Linked DNA regions of Homo sapiens: region 1 is linked to region 2. The links are contacts of gene promoters, found by promoter capture Hi-C in human tissues and cell types (Jung and others, 2019). All regions are on one chromosome and are shown on one strand. The core of a region is centred on a gene start or on the middle of the fragment in contact, and the rest is flanking DNA. Distances in the headings are between cores, read along the strand shown.

The links. The method cuts DNA at HindIII sites, captures the fragments that hold promoters and counts their contacts. A contact is called where the count stands out against the background at its distance.
Region 1: a contact is called between a fragment that was not itself captured here and the fragment with the promoter of MANBAL in region 2, in 1 of the 25 tissues and cell types used here (dorsolateral prefrontal cortex).

Annotation. Positions count from the first base shown.
Region 1 is chr20:38,391,813-38,396,628 of GRCh38, reverse strand. No RefSeq gene overlaps it. Among named protein-coding and RNA genes, the nearest start is that of SNORA71B, 31 kb to the left of the region's middle. The HindIII fragment of the contact is 3,869 bases long and covers 275-4,143 here.
Region 2 is chr20:37,287,711-37,292,495 of GRCh38, reverse strand. MANBAL (mannosidase beta like) reads right to left here and starts at 2,841. Exons shown (of 3, transcript NM_001003897.2): 1 at 2,810-2,841. RefSeq lists enhancers at 629-738, 1,967-2,871, 2,944-3,053. The HindIII fragment of the contact is 10,035 bases long and covers 1-4,785 here.

The sequences.
Region 1 (4,816 bases), core at 960-3,459, 1.1 Mb before region 2:
CTGTTTAGTCAATATGTGTCTATTTGGATTGAACAAAAAGGAAAGCAGATTATGGATAATTAGAGCCAGGGTTCTCACTGTTGGAAAAAAAGTTAGAAATAAGGAAGGAGCTAGAATGAATCCTGTGTGGTGTTGGATGAGAATCAGAAATATCAGTATGAACCCATGGTTTTGAACAATTATACAGATGCATAAATATAGAAATAAATATGGCTTTATGTGTATGCTTGTTAGTAATTGTCCTATGTAAAGTTTCTAGTTTTGTCCTCTCAGAAGCCCTAGAGGCAATGGCATCCCAGTAGCAGTGAGCACATCTAGACATCTAGCACCCAAATCTTGGTTTCCAAATACCATTTTTCAATAAAAGGAACTAGAGTTCCTTGGAGATTGCAAGTCTTTAGCAGGGGAAGTAAAAGATGAACCTGGCACACATACTGTTGTGCTAGAGTGAGGAAGTGCTCAGAAAATAATGGGGCCTAGTATGGTTAGCCTTTGTGTTCCCATTCAAATCTCATCTTGAATTGTAATCCCCATAATCCCCATGTGTCAAGGGAAAGACCAGGTGGAGGTAATTGAATCATGGGAGCAGTTCCCCCATGCTGTTTTCATGATAGTGAGTGAGTTCTCACAAGATCTGATGGTTTTATAAGGGGCTCTTCCCCCTTTGCGCAGCACTTCTCCTTCCTGCCGCCTTGGGAGGAGGTGCCTTGCTTCCTCCTTGCCTTCTACCATAATTGTAAGTTTCCTGAGGCTTCCCCAGCCATGCCAAACTGTGAGTCAATTAAACCTCTTTCCTTTATAAATTACCCAGTCTTGGGCAGTTCTTTATAGCAGTATGAAAACAGGCAAATACAGGGACATAGCCAAAGGATGTAGGGGCCATCCTGAAGTCATTTCTAACGACTAAAGCTGGGATAATTTGAGTAACAAAATGGATAAAGATTGGATTATAACTCTGTTCTATTTTCTCCCATAACCATTATCATCTCTTAACCTACTATCTAATTAACTTTTGTTCTCATTTATTATTGCCTGTCTCTTCCCATCCTAGAATGTAATGTTTATAAAGGTGGGAATTTTCTGGATCTGTTTTGTTTACTGATAAATCCCAAGCACAATGACAGCACTTGGCATACAGTGCTGGCTCAATAAATATTTGTGGAATGAGTGGATTTTCTCTCTCCACCTCCCAAGAGCACATAGATTGGGGAAACTGAATGTTCTAATGGAAACAAAAAGAATTTATCCAGACCATTGGGCACCAAACATCAGCAGCCACTACCATCTGATTCTCTGCTTCAGCACGTCTGAGACTCGTACAGACAGCAGGGAAAGTCCCAAGGGAGCTGAGTCTGGAACATTCCCTCCAGAAAAGGGCTTGGCAACCTGGGAGCCCATCTCCCAGGGAACATTTCTAAAGGTTTTCCTCTCAGAAGAATAGTTGGAACAGCTGCAGTTATTTTGGAAACTCAGTGAGAAGCTGACTTTTGCATGGCTAACTTAAATCTTTATTTCAGCTAAAAACCCTCCCACTCTTGAGAGGTTGACTTTAGGTGCCCCTTTATGGATATGGGAAGGGAAGCATGGATAAGGGAAAGTAAGTGTATTCGTTTTCTTGGGCTGCCATAAAAAATACCACAAGCTAGACCAGGCACAGTAGCTCATGCCTGTAATCCCAGCACTTTGGGAGGCCGAGGTAGGAGGATAGCTTGAGCTCAGGAGTTCGAGACTAGCCTGGGCAACATAGGAAGATGCTATCTCTACAAAACACCAAAAAATTAGCTGGGTGTGGTGGCACATGCCTGTAGTCCCAGCTACTCAGGAGGCTGAGATTGGAGGATACTTCAATCCAGGAGGTTGAGGTTGCAGTGAGCCGTGATTGCACCACTGCACTCCAGCCTGCTAGATGACAGAGTGAGACCCTTTCTTAACCACCTCCCCGTCCCCACAAACTGGGTTACTTAAAACAACAAAAATGGATTGTCTCCCAGTCCTGAAGGCTAGAAGTCAGAAGTCAAGGTGCCCACAGGCCATGCTCCCTTTGAGACTCTGGGTGGAATCCTTCCTTGCATCTTCCTAGCTTCCAGCAGCCTCATGCATCCCTGGAATGGCAGCTGCATCAGTCCAATCTCTGCCTCCAGCATCACATAGTTGTCTTCACATCACCTCCCCTCTGCGTGTAGCTGCATCTGTGTCCAAATTTTCCCTTTTTATAAGGACACAAGTCATATTGGATTAGAGCCCATCCTGATGATTTCATTTTAATTTGATTACCTCTATCAAGAGCCTATTCCAAATAAGATCACATTTTGAGGTCCTGGAGGTTAAAGCTTCAGCATATCTTTTTTGATTATTTATTTATTGAGATGGAGTCTTGCTCTGTCGCCCAGGCTGGAGTGCAGTGGTGTGATCTCGGCTCACTGCAACCTCCGCCTCCCAGGTTTAAGCGATTCTCGTGCCTCAGCCTCTTGAGTAGCTGGGACTACAGATGCCCGCCACCACGCCTGGCTAATTTTTATATTTTTAGAAGAGACGGGGTTTCACTATGTTGACTAGGCTGGTCTCAAACTTCTGACCTCAAGTGATCCACTTGCCTTGGCCTCCCAAAGTGCTGGGATTACAGGTATGAGCCACCCCACCTGGTCAGCATATCTTTTTTGGGGGTACCACAACTGAATCCATAGTGAGAAGTAACTACAAATATTGGACTGTTAGATTGACAGGGACTATTTCAGTTGAAACCACCGCACTCTCTACTCGTTCTCTGCAAGACCTCAACCACGTCCAGGCTCTTCAGAAATGGGAAGGTGTTAAGGAAACTCACCAAAGTGTTAAAGTGTAAAGGTCACCTCAACCTGCCAGGGCCTCCCTTCCCTTTGGCCCTTGAGCACCCTGCAAAATGGAGACCCTCAAGGTCCTCTCTTACTTCCTGCTGCCCTGGGTTTCCGCCCTCCTGGGTTAACATTCTGTGGCTCATTTACCTTCCAAGTACCTTTCAAAGCCCCAGTGGGCAGCTTAGAACCATCATCAGTGAGAACAGGGTGAGATATCCTTTGCGGGCGGCTCTGGGATCTGAACAGGAGAAATTAAAGTGAAAGGTGGGGACAGCTGAGCATGCACAGAAGCGCAGTGGCAAGATCTGGAGATAATTAACAGCTGGCTATAAATTGAAGGAGCTATATGATAAAAGCCTAGGGCAGCCCATAACTTGGGAAAAGATTGGATCACTAGGTTAAGTGACAAGAGACTTCAAATCAAATCACCAGATACGTATTAAGTGCCTGACTCAGTACTGCATTGAGCCGTGGGTGATACAAAGACATGTAATATCTGTTTCCTGCCCTCAAGGCAATTATAATCTACTTAGGGAGGTTAGACATAAAACTAGGAGAAATTAGATAGCAAAATATTTAAATAGCAGTTGAAAATACCACATGATCGGTTGCCAATTGAATTGTGGAGCTGAGTTCTGAACAAGGAGAGATTATTTGATTATTTATGGTGTTAGATAGGCACGTATTTTCTTGCTGAGGGAAAGGAAGAGTTAACTGAACAGGGCAAACTAGAAAGTCTCTGGGAGGGGAAGCAGGGGAGAACCCTGACGTCCAAGGAATGTGTTACTAATAATAATAGTTTCCATTTGTTAAGCATTTACTGATTAAGCAACTTACAAACCTTAATATACTTACATACGTTTAAGTAATTCAGTAGTCTCATGGGTTGCTATACTTTCTGTACCAATTAAAACCAACACTAGCTCGTGTTTAATGTTTAAATCCCCAAATCTCAGTGACTGACAGGTTTATTTCTGCTTTTGCAAAGCCCACATGCCACAGTTGGGGATGGGAGAAGCTCTGCTCCATACAATCATTCAGGGACCTAGACTGCTGCTGGAGGCTCTGCCATCTTCAACACATTTATCCCAAGTCACCTTGGGTGTCAATATATCGACATCCAGCTGGCTGAGGGGGGACGAGAGAGAGAGAGATTGAGAGAGAGAGAGAGAGAGAGAGAGACAGAGACAGAGACAGAGAGAGAGAAAGATGTAGTGGGGGATCATACAGGTGGTGTTTATGGATTTGTCAGAACTCAGTCACATGGGCCACAATTAATTGCAAGGGGTGCTGGGAAATGTAGTTCAACCATGTGTCCAGGTGGAAAGAGAAATGGTTCGGTGGACAGCCAGCTAGTGAGACTACTGCACATTTGTGACTTTTTTAGATGTGGAAACTTGGGCTCAGAGAGACCCACCAAGGTCACACAGTGAGTAAAGGGAAGTCATATAGGTATAGTTGATAGAGCACGAAATATGTGTGAATGTATTATCTAAAATTACAAACACACCAATAGAGAAACAAAAAATATTATGTTACATAGTATTTTGAGAGAGGAAAGGAAAATGGGGTGACAAGCTAAGTCCTCATGTACTCAGCAAATTTTTAGAAAATTGGTAAATTTAAAAAATGATGTAGGAACGTTATTTGAGATCTTGAGCTAGCCATCAAAGGAACTAAAACCAGAAACATTTCAGGAATTAAATGTGGTACCTCTGAGACCACTGCTTCTTATGATAAGCCCTTTTGCACATTTGATTTTTTAAAATGTGTGCCTTAATTGCTTTGATATACATTTGTGGCAGGTTGAACAATGGGCTCACCAAAGATGTCCATGTCCTAATTCCCTGAACCTATGAGTATGTTACCTCGCGTGGTGAACGGACTTTGCAGGTGTGATTAAGTTAAGGATTTTGAGATGGGGAGATTATCGTGCATTATTTGGGTGGGCTCAGTGCAATCACAAGGGTCCTTATGAGAGA
Region 2 (4,785 bases), core at 1,592-4,091:
AAACTCTCTCTACTAAAAATACAAAAATTAGCCAGCCATGGTGGTAGGTGCCTGTAATCCCAGCTACTCAGGAGGCTGAGGCAGGAGAATCACTTAAACCCGGGAGGTGGAGGTTGCAGTGAGCCAAGACTGCACCACTGCACTCCAGCCTGGGCGACAGCGGGAGACCCTGTCTCAAAACAAAACAAATCCATGAGTTCACACCGATACAAATATATGACTCTGTAAGCAAAAAATAGGGGAACAGACAAATTTCCCACAGAGAACTCCAAATAATTTGCATTATATACTCTGCCTTTAAGCATGGGGCATAATTCCACACTCCTTAAATGTGTGCTGTACATAATGACTTTCTCCAAAAGTACAGTGCGGAAAGTGCAGGAGGAAAAGTAACTCTACACTGGAAAAGCCTGACTACTACCTCAAGCCAGGTGGCTCAAGCTAACAGATGTCAACAATGATAACTCATATCGATAGTATGTACCCTTGATATGATGTGATGAGAATAGCACTTTACTTCTGTGGTTGGATTAGTCCATTTTCATACCACTTTGAAGAAATACCCGAGACTGGGTAATTAATAAAGAAAAAGAGGTTTAACGGACTCACGGTTCCACATGGGTGGGTAGGCCTCACAATCACGGCAAAAGGCAAAGGGGAGGCAAGGGCATGTCTTATGTGACAGCAGGCAAGAGAGTGTGTGCAGGGGAACTGCCCTTTATAAAACCATCAGATCTCCTGAGACTTATTCACTATCAGGAGAATAGCATGGGAAAGACCCACCCCCATGATTCAATTGTCTCCCACCAGGACCCTCCCACAACATGGGGGGATTATGGGAGCTACAATTCAAGATGAGATTTGGGTGGGGACACAGCCGAACCCTATCAGTGGTCCTCCTCCCCAAAAACCCATTACCCTGATCTTACTCATGTCAAAAACAGGCAAATCCTAATTAAAGGTCCTTCTGCAAAATATCTGACCAGTCAGTACTATCTTCAAAACCCTCAAGTTCATCTAAAACAAGGGAAGTCTGAGAAACGATCACAGAGATGATGAGCCTAAAGAGATATGATGACTAAATGTAATAGGGTGCCCTGGATAATACCAGGACAGAAAAAGGACATTAGGGAAAAACTAAGGAAATGTGAATAAAGTACAGATTAGAGTTAATAATAATGTATCAATATTGGTTCAGTAATTGTGACATTTCAGATATTAGTAATAGGGGAAACGTGGGCTATATGGGCACTCACTGAAGTATCTTTGCGATAACTTTGTAAATCTAAAATTATTCTAAAACAAAAAGGTTATTGGGGAAAAAAAGAATGGGTCAACATTTCAAAACAAATAAATAAAAAACCACTGAGACAAGTATAGCTCTCAAGACTTAGCAAATACTAAATCTTCTCTTAAGACTGAAAAACTCAGATTTCACGACTGCCACAGGCCTTCATCTCCCAATGTTGTGTACTGTGCTGGTAGGCCATTCTTGGCTTCTAATGAAGTAACTTTAAATTCTATTGTGAAAATTCAGCTGAAAACAGACTGGGGAATAGAAACCAGTGTCAGAAGTTACTGTTTTAGGCCAGGCACAGTGGCTCTTGCCAGTAATCCCAAACACTTTGGGAGGTCCAGGAGGAAGGATATCTTGCCTCCAGGAGTTCAAGACCAGGCAGGAAAACATAGTGAGACTCCATCTCTATTTCAACTTTTTTTTAATTAAAAAGAAAAAAAAGCCGGGTGTGGTGGCTCCCGCCTATAATCCCAACACTCTGGGAGGCCGAGGCGGGTGGATCACCTGAGGTCGGGAGTTTGAGACCAGCCTGGCCAACATGGTGAAACCCTGTCTTTACTAAAGATACAAAAATTAGCCGGGCGTGGTGGCACACGTCTGTAATCCCAGCTATTCGGAAAGCTGAGGCAGGAGAATCGCTTGAACCCAAGAAGCGGAGGTTGCAGTGAGCCAAGATCCCGCCACTGCCCTTCAGCGTGGACGAGAGAGAGACTCCGTCTCTAAATAAATAAATAGAATGGCTTTAAAAAAAAAAAAAGGAAAGAAAAAGAAGTTACCGCTTTATGGCAATGGGTTGTACAGCCTGGCCCGTCCCATTAAAACAAATTCCTAAGAACCACGCAAAACTAGATTAGAATGCAAAGCTAAGCCACCTCTCTGGGCAAAGTCACACTGGTAGCCGGTGGGCTGAAACTGGTGTGCAGATGCCCTGCAAAATATAATTATTAATCTAAATGTGTTGTCACCATTTTAAAAATGTTTCTCATATTCATTTCTCGCTTCTCTTAGAATTCGTACAACAAACATGGACTGTGCACCTACTAAGGGCTTTACATTCACCACCTCGGTTTACCCCGCAGTACAAGCGTGTATGTCCATTTTAGAAGACGAAACTGAGGGCCAGAGAGGAACCGTGACTTGCCCACGGTAAGAGAGCCATACGGATTCGAACCCTGGCCAGATTCACTCTGGAGCTCAGGGTTCTCCTACTGCTCCACCCGTGGGAGGAAAGGCCCGGACCAGGCCATGAGGAGCCCTGGGTTCTGGCCCAGCCTCCGCACGAAAGCGCAGGGCTGCCCCAGGCGAGGCCCTCCGCCTCCCGGGGGGCTCAAATTCCCCTCCGGAAGTAACTTTCGAACAACCGCCGAGGGAACGTATTCAGGCCCTGAGCGGAGCGACAGCCGGGCCCACCAAGCGGCGCCGCTGGAGACAGGCCGGCCGGGAAAGCCAGGCCACCGCACCGAGGACGGCTCTCTCTCGGTTCCCACCCCACCGCAAAGCTGCGGCACTCACCTCCCGCGCCGCCGCGCCGCTCCCCCGGAAGTAGTTCCCTGCGACCCTGAGTCCCGGAAGTGACGCGCACTGAGCAACCAACCGGCTCTGTTCCGCCCGCGTTGCCAGGTTTCTGGGTGAGGCACCGCTGGGTTTTGTCGACTTTTGTCCCTGTTCTGTGGGTTCGAGCTGGACAAAGAGGTTTGGGGAAATGAAATCTAGAGCTTGTCAATTCTTTAAGCTCCTATATCACTCAGCTCGTTTCAGCAACATTTTTGTTTAATTAAAAAGAAAACAAAAGAAATTACTTCTCGGGGCTGGGCACGGTGGCTCACGCCTGTAATCCCAGCACTTTGGGAGGCCGAGGCGGACGGATCACTTGAGGTCAGGAGTTCGAGACCAGCCTGGTCAACATGGTGAAACCCCGTCTCTACCAAAAATACAAAAATTAGCCGGGCGTGGTGGCGGGCGCCTGTAATCCCAGCTGCTTGGGAGGCTGAGGCAAGAGAATCTCTTGAATCCCGGGAGGCAGAAGTTGCAGTGAGCCGAGATCGCGCCACTGCACTCCAGCCTGGGCGACAGAATGAGACTCTTCCTCAAAAAAAAAAAAAAAAAAAAAAAAAAGTTACTTATTCATCGCAATGGGCTGTATAGCTTGGCCCGTCTCATTGTAACAAATTCGTAAGAACTGCGCGAAACTAGATTAGAATTTTGTCCTATGCAAAGCTAAGCCATCTCCCAGAGCAGAGCACAGTCACAACTGGTAGCTGGTGAGCTAAAACGGGTGTGTAGCTGTCCTGCAAAATGTTCATCTGGATGTGTTGTCACTATTTCAAAAGTGTTTCTCACGTTCATTTCCTTAATTTTATGCCAGGTCCTGAGCTAGGAGCCTACAATGCAGAGAGGAGACAAACAGAAACACCTCTTGTAATTCAGACAGAAGCAAATCATTATAATTCATTCAAAAAGCATTCACTGAGCGCGTACTCTATGCTTTGTCCTTGTAACTGAGGACACAGTGCTAAAGCAGACACATACAGTCTCTGCCCTTGTGGTGCTTACAGTCCGTTGGAGGGAGACAGACTAATTAAATGAATGTGTAATCATATAACAGGATAAGTTTTTTGAAGGCAAAGAACAGTGTTCCATGATTAAGAAGGGGTGGGGGGCAAGTAGTAGGAGAAAAAGAAACCTAGATGAGAGTGTGATAACCAGCCTCCACCATAAACCCTGACGATTCTTGGCTCCTGATATCCATACCCCTCTGTAGTCACCTCCCACCAAGAATAAGACTGACCTGTATAACCCATAGGATATTGCGGAAATCTTGGAGCACGAGTTCCAAGATAAAGTCATAAAAGACATTGCAACTTCCTCTTTCCTCTGTCTTGATTGCTCATGGGGAATCCATGTTGTGAAGACACTCAAGCAGTCCTATGGAGAGGCTCGCATGGGGAGTAACTGAGCTGCCTGCCAACAACCAGCTCCAACTTGCCAGCCATGTGTATGAGCCAAGTGGCTCCAGCAGTCCTAGTCAAGCTTTCAAATGACTGTGGCCTGGCCAAAATCTTCAGTGTAAACTCAAGAGCAACCTTGAGCCAGAAATACCTTGCAATGCCACTTGAATGCCTGCCTCACAGAAATTGTGAAATACTAAATGTTATTGTTTTAAGCTCCTAAGTTTTAGGATAATTGGTTATGCAGCCTAGATAACATACATAGAGGATCAAGGAACAGAGGTTAGATACCAGAGACTCCAAAAAAAAAAAAGAGAGAGAGAGAGACCTATCTTGCCCTAAAGGAATTCAGTCTCTTAGAAGACAAATAATACACTCAACATTCACTAATCCCATACTATGTGAGGTGGCATGGGGGACCCAAAATGCATAATTTATTCATTTAAAAAATATTTATGGAGTTTCTACTCTGGATCATGCACTATGAAACTGGGAAGACAATGGTGAGTAGGTGGGATCCTACCCTGACTGTGCTTATAG